Regions from separate parts of the Homo sapiens genome. Here region 1 is linked to region 2. The links are contacts of gene promoters, found by promoter capture Hi-C in human tissues and cell types (Jung and others, 2019). All regions are on one chromosome and are shown on one strand. Each heading gives the region's core, a stretch centred on a gene start or on the middle of the fragment in contact. The rest is flanking DNA. Distances are from core to core; before and after follow the strand shown.

What was found. The method cuts DNA at HindIII sites, captures the fragments that hold promoters and counts their contacts. A contact is called where the count stands out against the background at its distance.
Region 1: a fragment that was not itself captured here is called in contact with the fragment with the promoter of NBAS in region 2 in 1 of the 25 tissues and cell types used here (hippocampus).

The regions. Positions count from the first base shown.
Region 1 is chr2:15,315,760-15,320,534 of GRCh38, forward strand. The region is part of intron 38 of NBAS (NBAS subunit of NRZ tethering complex); the gene reads right to left. Among named protein-coding and RNA genes, the nearest start is that of NBAS, 240 kb to the right of the region's middle. The HindIII fragment of the contact is 3,878 bases long and covers 1-3,335 here.
Region 2 is chr2:15,558,831-15,563,477 of GRCh38, forward strand. It overlaps NBAS (NBAS subunit of NRZ tethering complex), which reads right to left and starts at 2,504. Exons shown (of 52, transcript NM_015909.4): 1 at 2,358-2,504. The coding sequence starts at 2,474. LOC105373440 (a long non-coding RNA gene) reads left to right here and starts at 3,318. Exons shown (of 4, transcript XR_001739297.2): 1 at 3,318-3,353. RefSeq lists an enhancer at 2,294-2,703. The HindIII fragment of the contact is 7,047 bases long and covers 1-4,647 here.

The DNA of each region.
Region 1 (4,775 bases), core at 147-2,646, 240 kb before region 2:
CACACAATAATCCCAGGCATTAATCTCTATAATGTGCCTAGCCCAGGGCTCTCCTAACTAACATGAATTGTAGGGAACTGATGGGAACAGTGGAGAACATGAGTCTCCACTCTACCTCTGGGCATCAAAACTGTCTCAGCAGCCCTCACCCAGACTCAGAGATCCTAATAAAGTAGAAATCAAAACCCACACTTGGAAGTTTCTTAGTCTTGGAATCCACAAACCATATGAAGCAATATTTGACAAAATATTCAGAAAAGATGGTAAGTAAGTTTCACTGGGATGCACAACATGTAATACTGGCTAGAGACTGAATTACATGGACGTTGCCATTAAACATAAAAAATAAATAAATAAATAAAACCTGCTCTACATTTAGCAGTGTGCACGAATTTAATTTGTAATGCTAGTTCTCAAACCTTGAATATAAAGCATTGTCTAAACAAGTTATATGGCCAAAATCAGAGGAAATCTATGCTTAACTCTCCCCCCGTTCCAAGACAGCCAAATAGGAACAGCTCCGCTCTGCAGCTCGCAGCGTGATCGATGCAGAACACAGGTGATTTCTGCATTTCCAACTGAGGTACCTGGTTCATCTCACTGGGACTGGTTGGACAGTGGGTGCAGCCCACAGAGGGCGAGATGAAGTAGGGCGGGGTGTTGCCTCACACAGGAAGTGCAAGGGGTTGGGGGATTTCCCTTTCCTAGCCAAGGGAAGCCATGACACACTGTACCTGAAAAAAATGGGACACTCCCGCCCAAAATACTGTGCTTTTCTCAAGGTCTTAGCAACCGGCAGACAAGGAGATTCTCTCACCTGCCTGGCTCGGCGGGTCCCATGCCCATGGAGCCTTGCTCACTGCTAGCGCAGCAGTCTGAGCTAGAACTGTGAGGCAGCAGCCTGGCTGGGGGAGGGGTGTCGGCCATTGCTGAGGCTTGAGTAGGTAAATAAAGTGGCCAGGAAGCGCGAAGTGGGAGGAGCCCACCGCAGCTCAGCAAGGACTACTGCCTCTACAGACTCCACATCCGTGGGCAGGGCACAGCTGAACAAAAGGCAGCAGACAACTTCTACAGACTTCAACATCCCTGTCTGACAGCTCTGAAGAGAGCAGTGGTTCTCCCAGCATAGCGTTTGAGCTCTGAGAAAGGACAGACTGCCTCCTCAAGTGGGTCCCTGACCCCGTGTAGCCTAACTGGGAGACGCTTCCCAGTAGGGGCCAACAGACACTTCATACAGGGGGTGCCACTCTGGGATGAAGCTTCTAGAGGAAGGATCAGGCAGTAATATTCGCTGTGCTGCAATATTTGCTGTTCTGCAGCCTCCATTGGTGATGAACAGGCAAACAGCGTCTGGAGTGGACCTCCAGCAAACTCCAACGGACCTACAGCTGAGGAACCTGACTCTTAGAAGGAAAACTAACAAACAGAAAGGAATCGCATCAACATCAACAAAAAGGACATCCACACCAAAATCCCATCTGTAGGTCACCAACATCAATGACCAAAGGTAGATAAAACCACAAAGATGGGGAGAAACCAGAGCAGAAAAGCTGAAAATTCTAAAAACCAGAGCACCTCTTTTCCTCCAATGGATCACAGCTCCTCACCAGCAATGGAACAAAGATGGATGGAGAATGATTTTGACAAGTTAACAGAAGTAAGCTTCAGAAGGTCGGTAATAACAAACTTCTCCGAGCTAAAGGAGCATGTTCTAATGCATTGCAAGGAAGCTAAAAATCTTGAAAAAGGGTTAGACGAATGTCTAACTAGAATAAACAGTGTAGAGAAGACCTTAAATGACCAGATGGAGCTGAAAACCATGGCACGAGAACTTCATGATGCATGCACAAGCTTCAGTAGCCAATTTGGTCAAGTGGAAGAGTATCAGTGATTGAAGATCAAATTAATGAAATAAAGCAAGAAGACAAGGTTAGAGAAAAAAAGAGTAAAAAGAAACAAACAAAGCCTCCAAGAAATATGGGACTATGTGAAAAGACCAAATCTACGTTTGATTGGTGTACCTGAAAGTGACGGGGAGAATGGAAACAAGTTGGAAAACACACTTCAGGATATGATCCAGGAGAACTTCCCCAACCTAGCAAGACAGGCTAACATTCAAATTCAGGAAATACAGAAAACACCACAAAGAGATTCCTCGAGAAGAGCAACCCCAAGACACATAATTGTCAGATTCACCAAGGTTGAAATAAAGGAAAAAATGTTAAGGGCAGCCAGCACAAAAGGTTGGGTTGCCCACAAAGGGAAGCCCATCAGACTAACAGCAGATCTCTTGGAAGAAACCCTACAAACCAGAAGAGAGTGGGGGCCAATATTCAACATTCTCAAAGAAAAGAATTTTCAACCCAGAATTTCATATCCAGACAAACCAAGCTTCATAAGGGAAGGAGAAATAAAATCCTTTACAGACAAGCAAATGCTGAGATTTTGTCACTACCAGGCCTGCCTTACAAGAGCTCCTGAAGGGAGCACTAAACATGGAAAGGAACAACTGGTATCAGCCACTGTAAAAACATGCCAAATTGTAAAGACCATCAATGCTAGGAAGAAACTCCATCAATTAATGGGCAAAATAACCAGCTAACATCATAAAGACAGGATCAAATTCACACATTAACAATATTAACCTAAATATAAATGGGCTAAATACCCCAATTAAAAGACACAGACTGGCAAATTGGGTAAAGAGTCAAAACCCATTACTGTGCTTTATTCAGGAGACCCATCTCACGTGTAGAGTCATACATAGCCTCAAAATAAAGGGATGAAGGAAGATCTACCAAGCAAATGGAAAGCAAAAAAGAAAAGCAGGGGTTGCAATCCTAGTCTCTGATAAAATAGACTTTAAACCAACAAAGAGCAAAAGAGACAGAGGAGGCCATTACATAATGGTAAAGGGATCAATTCAATAAGAAGAGCTAACTATCCTAAATATATATGCACCCAATACAGGAGCACCCAGATTCATAAAGCAAGTCCTTAGAGACCTAAAAGAGACTTAGACTCCCACACACTAATAATGGGAGACGTTAACACCCCACTGTCAATATTAGACAGATCAACGAGAAAGAAGGTTAACAAGGATATCCAGGACTTGAAATCAGCTCTGGACCAAGCAGACCTAATAGACATCTACAGAACTCTCCACCCCAAATCAACAGAATATACATTCTTCTTGCACCACATCACACCTATTCTAAAATTGACCACATAATTGGAAGTAAAACACTCCTCAGCAAACGTAAAAGAACAGAAATCACAACAAACTTTCTCTCAGACCACAGTGCAATCAAATTAGAACTCAGGATTAAGAAACTCACTCAAAACCACACAACAACATGGAAAGTGAACAACCTGCTCCTGAATAACTACTGGGTACATAACGAAATGAAGGCAGAAATAAAGATGTTCTTTGAAACCAGTGAGAACAAAGACACAATGTACCAGAATCTCTGGGACACATTTAAAGCAGTGTGTAGAGGGAACTTTATAGCACTAAATGCCCACAAGAGAAAGCAGGAAAGATATAAAATCGACACCAAACATCACAATTAAAAGAACTAGAGAAGCAAGAGCAAACGAATGTAAAAGCTAGCAGAAGGCAAGAAATAACTAAGATCAGAGCAGAACTGAAGGAGATAGAGACACAAAAAACCATTCAAAAAATCAATGAATCCAGGAGCTGGTTTTTTTAAAAGATCAACAAAATTGATAAACCACTAGCAAGAGCAATAAAGAGGAAAGAGAGAAGAATCAAACAGATGCAATAAAAAATGATAAAGGGGATATCACCACCGATCCCACAGAAATACAAACAACCACCAGAGAATACTATAAACATCCTATGCAAATAAACTAGAAAATCTAGAAGAAATGGATAAATTCCTGGACACATACACCCTCCCAAGACTAAACCAGGAAGAAGTTGACTCTTTGAATAGACAAATAACAGGCTCTGAAATTGAGGCAATAATTAACAGCCTACCAACCAAAAAAAGTCCAGAACCAGAGATTCACAGCCGAATTCTTCCAGAGGTACAGAGAGGAGCTGGTACCATTCCTTCTGAAACGATCCCAATCAATAGAAAAAGAGGGAATCTTCCCTAACTCATTTTATGAGGCCAGCATCATCCTCATACCAAAGCCTGGCAGAGACACAACAAAAAAAAAAGAGAATTTTAGACCAATATCCCTGATGAACATTGATGCGAAAGTCCTCAATAAAATACTGGCAAACCAAATCCAGCAGCACATCAAAAAGCTTATCCACCATGATCAAGTAGGCTTCATCCCTGGCATGCAAGGCTGGTTCAACATATGCAAATCAATAAACATAATCCATCACATAAACAGAACCAATGACAAAAACCACCTGACTACCTCAATAGATGCAGAAAAGGCCTTCGACAAAATTCAACAGCCCTTCATGCTAAAAACTCTCAATAAACTAGGTACTGATGGAACGAATCTCAAAATAATAAGAGCTATTTATGACAAACCCACAGCCAATATCATACTGAATGGGCAAAAACTGGAAGCATTCCCTTTCAAAACCAGCAGAAGACAAGGATGCCCTCTCTCACCACACCTATTCAACATAGTGTTGGAAGTTCTGGCCAGGGCAATCAGGCAGGAGAAGGAAATAAAGGGTATTCAATTAGGAAAAGAGGAAGTCAAATTGTCTCTGTTTGCAGATGACATGATCGTATATTTAGAAAACCCAATCATCTCAGCCCAAAATCTCCTTAAGCTGATAA
Region 2 (4,647 bases), core at 1,254-3,753:
TGCCAAGGTGGGCTGACTGCTTGAGCCCAGGAGCTCCAGACCTGCCTGAGCAACGTGGCAAAACCTCATCTCTACAAAAAATACAAAAATTGGCCAGGCATGGCGGTGCATGCCTATAGTCCCAGCTACTTGGGAAGCTGAGGTGACCCAGGAGGTTGAAGCTACGAAGCTACAGTGAGCCCTGATCATGCCACTGCACTCCAGCCTGGGTGACAGAGTGAGACCCTGCCTCAAAAAAAAAAAAAAAAAAAAAAAAAGTAGACACAGGACGCGGGACAATAGGAGAAAAGTGAGCATAGCAGAGCTACAGGCACATGTCAGGACTAACCTTGCAGGAAAGAACAAGGATTGAAGCTGGAAACTGTTTCCAAATCAAAAACCAATCCAAAGACAAGAGAAGTCAAGGCCAAAGACCATACTGGTTGCCAGTTCAGCATACTCTATTGAGGCTGTAAGTTTTGCTCACAGGAAAAGTGGTCATATCTCCAAGGCCAATTCATTGACTATCTGTTGTGTATCTATACAGACAATGCTACTAACAAAACATACACAGATACGTAATTGCTATATTAAATAATTCCATTCCATAAGTATAGACTGAACACACCGTGGGTAGGTTCATGACGCTAGGCACTGCATAAGATGCACTAAAGTGCTGTCAAGAAAAGCACAATGGACATACAGTAAGTGTAGACAGATTTTTTTAAAAAACACAGAAAAGTTATTTCACTCAATAAACATGAATTGATTGTTGGATTCATGCAAGACACAATTTGGCCCTGGGAAGAGATATAAAGATGAATCAGATGTCTGCCCTCCAAGAGCTTATAATTCAACAGCTGAAATCAACAGAATGCAGAAATCGATAGAATGCAGAAATCAATTGAACTCCCCCACCCCCAACACACAAACACAAAACAAAGTGCTAAGGGTTTCAAAGTAAGTTAATTCTGTGGTTACTTTTTTGGAATCAATTTATGGTAAGCATTCTGAAACATTACTGCAATTAACCAATGAGTGTTAAGGAGTGGAAACTTATCTAACCAGCTGCCTCAGCAACAGCTTCCTAGCTGCATAACCCAAAAAATATTCACATTAAGACAAACTAAGTACTTGAAATTAAACAGTAATATATGCAGATCTCTACCCGTCTACAAAATAAATTATTCATGATAAGCACAAACTGCAGTGGGAAGGAGGCTACAGAGGAAAAAAATACAAACTTTGGGCTGAAAAATGAGTCGTTTCTCCAGCAAAGAAACACTCAGAAAAAATGTAAGATAACTCACATGGGCTGGACTACATAATCTTTAATAAAGGTTCTTTTCGATCTGGCTGCTTCCTCTGGGTCTAAAACAGTAACTGGCACGTGTTAAGCACTCAATAAATATCTGTTAAATAAACATGGATCCAAAAAATAATAATAATAAAAAATAAAATAAAATAAACATGGATCCATGGTTCCTACTCTTCATCACAGACCCGGGAGGCCTTCACTACCAAACAACTGATAATCCCAAGATCCAGTCCATAAATTATCAACCTCTATAACCCTTCTGTAGCGGAGATCCCAATCCCAGTCAGCAGCTCTTTACTCTGCACTTCCGTGGCATTTTGCTCACATCGCTAACTATAGCGCATAAAACGCTAGGTTATGAAAAACGTTTACGGGACTGTCTCCCCTCTAGACGAGAAGCTCCACGAAAACATATTCATCTCTGTATCCTTAGCACCTAGCACAGCACCTGTGACACCGAGACAGACGAACGGACACGCACACCCTTATTAAATGCTCTTTTATTGAAACACACAAGACCTGGCGCGATCCAGCCCCCAGTATGGGTAAAGGCTCAGATTCTGCGCTCTGCACCAGCCTGGCAGATGCTGCAGACTGTAAGGTCCTGGAAAATTCTCCCATCGCAGTTGAGCGTCGGCCCAGACTAGCCCTAGCCAGACCGCGAGAAGGGACCACTGAGGGTCCAGATAGGAGAAAGGACCCTCGAGTCCAGCGCTGTGCCTTCCCCTCCTAATACAGAGAGCGACACTAACAATCCCCTCTCCTCCCAATACAGAGAGCGAAACTGAGAACCAAAGTGGGATCGTACGCTCCCCAGAGCACGAAGTTCCAGCCCCCAACAACCGAATTCTGAGCCCAGGAAGAATCTCAGGGACCACCACCCCACCCCGCCCTAGACCCCCGCTAGCCCAAGGTGCCGTTGCCAAGGCGACCGCACAAGCCAACCGGCCCTAGTCCCCCACCCACCCGTCTCCACTCCCCTACGTGGCTCCTGCTACGTGGCTCTACCCACGAAGCGCCCGCGCCAAGCTGGCTGCTGCTGTAGATGGGCCTGGTTCACCTGTACTTCAGTCTCCGGTGGCCACTCGGTGTTGACCAACAAGTCATAGAGAATCGTCTCCTCCTCACCCTCTGCAGTGCCTGGACTCAAAGCCGGCCCTGACTCGGGGGCCGCCATGTTCGCCGAGGACTCAGGCAGCGGAGGAGTGTCTCTACGGAATCCCTCACAGGACAAGCTTCTCTATCCGCGGCCGCTTTTGTTTCACGGCAAGGAAATGCTAGGTTAACCCTTTTATGAGTAGGAAGGACAGGGACTATTGCTTGTCTTGGGAACGACTTGTGTCCCGGTCCTGATACACTCCTTGTTCATTAATCTACATGAGATCGGCCAAGTCATTGAGCCTCTCTTATAACTCAGTTTCCATAAAACAGAAATGGTAAAGGTACCCCACTGAAATGCTAATGTTCATTTGTATATTCTTTGCCTAACACGTAGAGAGAGTTCAAACAGTGGTTTTAAAATAAACAACTAAAGTTATCCAATGAAAGGTAGCAGAGGAAGGATGCTACAGGAGCTCAGAAAAGGCAACGAAGGCCAGAGTCTGCAGGGATTTCCTGGAGGACGTGGAGCTTGTCCCTGCGTCTTTAACAATAGGCAGAATTTTAATCTACTGGAGAAGCATTTCAAGTAGCGGGAAATGGAATGAGCAGAGACAGAGGCAGAAATACAGAGTTGAAAGAACTCTTTCAACGTGTCGCCAGTGAGTGACGACTTTCTCAGTGTGGGAGTAAAAGAATTTACCAAGACAGTGGTAGATAAAGAAAGACAGATTAAAGAAAGTATGAAAGTTCGTTGCCAGGGAGCAGCGGGCCGACTCAGCAGAGGAGGAGCTCATTGCTAGGAAACAAAGGCTTGTTGAGAATTTTATAGACTGGAACTTGGAGTGATTGATAACACCAGGTAGCAGGGAGTTAACTTGCTTTTTTTTTTTCTTTCTTTCTTTTTTTTTTTTTTTTTTTGTCAGCTGAAGTGTTTCAGAAATTGAGGCATTTGAAGGTAAGCAGGAAGTTTGTGAGTTAAGTACGTTATCTGGGTAGAAGGGCCATATGTCCTGGGCCATAAAGAAAAGTAGACCTATGGCTTATTTGTTTCTTCCTTTTGTTTATATGTTTTGGACCATGAAGAAAGACAGACGTATAGCTAATTTGCCTTATCTCTTTGTTTTTCCCTGCTCCCACTAGCCTGCCTTTTTTTTTTTCCTAATTAGTACTCAACAAGACGGGTGAATAGAACCCAAGTTGAGAAAGGGTGTAGGGGCAATAAAGTTGAAATAATAGGTTGAGAACCCGCATGGAGGGAGCGAAAAGGTCAACCCCATTTGTTCATTCATTCATTCATTCAACAAATACCTCTTTGTGGACAGTTATAAGCAGAGCCTACTGTAACATGAATGAATATATACTGTACAAAGTATTACACTGTTTCACATCAAAAGAAACACAAATACTGAATATCCCTTGAGATAATTATATTCATGATATCCATCAAGATGCATTAGGCGGTGATGCAATTAAAAGCCTCTGCTGGGAAGCCTCTAACCAGCTCCCATTTCTCTCAAAGTTTAATGACCTCAAAGCCCTACGTCATCTGCCTGCTCCCCTAAATCTCACACCTCATTTCCTGCTCCCCCTACTACCTTCAGCCACACTGGCTCTATTTCTGAACACACCAGACACACATCAACTTCAGGAGTTCTGCAAAGCCTGTCCCCTCCACTTGGAAGGCTTTCTACCAGATGTTTACCTGGTTCCTCCCTTATCTCCTTCAAGTTTTTGCTCAAATGTCGTCTCTCTCTGAAGCCTACCTTGACTGCTCATTTTTAAATTTGCAATGACCATTCTCCAACTCCAGCTTTCCAGAGCTGCTCTATTATTTTTTCCATTACACTTGTCATCACTTAAATGGCTATACAGTATATTTGCTTATTATCTGTCTCCATTCACTAAAAGGTAAGCCATGCCAGGTGCTCTATCTATATGCATGCAAATGCTATATCCATCCCTGCTATATCCCCAGAATTTATAACAGTGCCTGGCATAGAGCAGAGGACAAAATATATATTATTTGTTGAATAAATGACAGACTTCCCAGAAAATCTTTTACACATTGTCTCCCCATAGTATTTCTCTGCATAGCAGCTGTGCCCTTCAATCAAACCCCTCATTGTGAACACCAGACGTGTCTTCTCCCTACCGCACAAGGCTGACAAACTGTATACCTCCGGGGAGCCCCGCCCACATTGCATGCGGTAGAACATGAAGAGGCAGGAACACCATGCACATGGAATGCG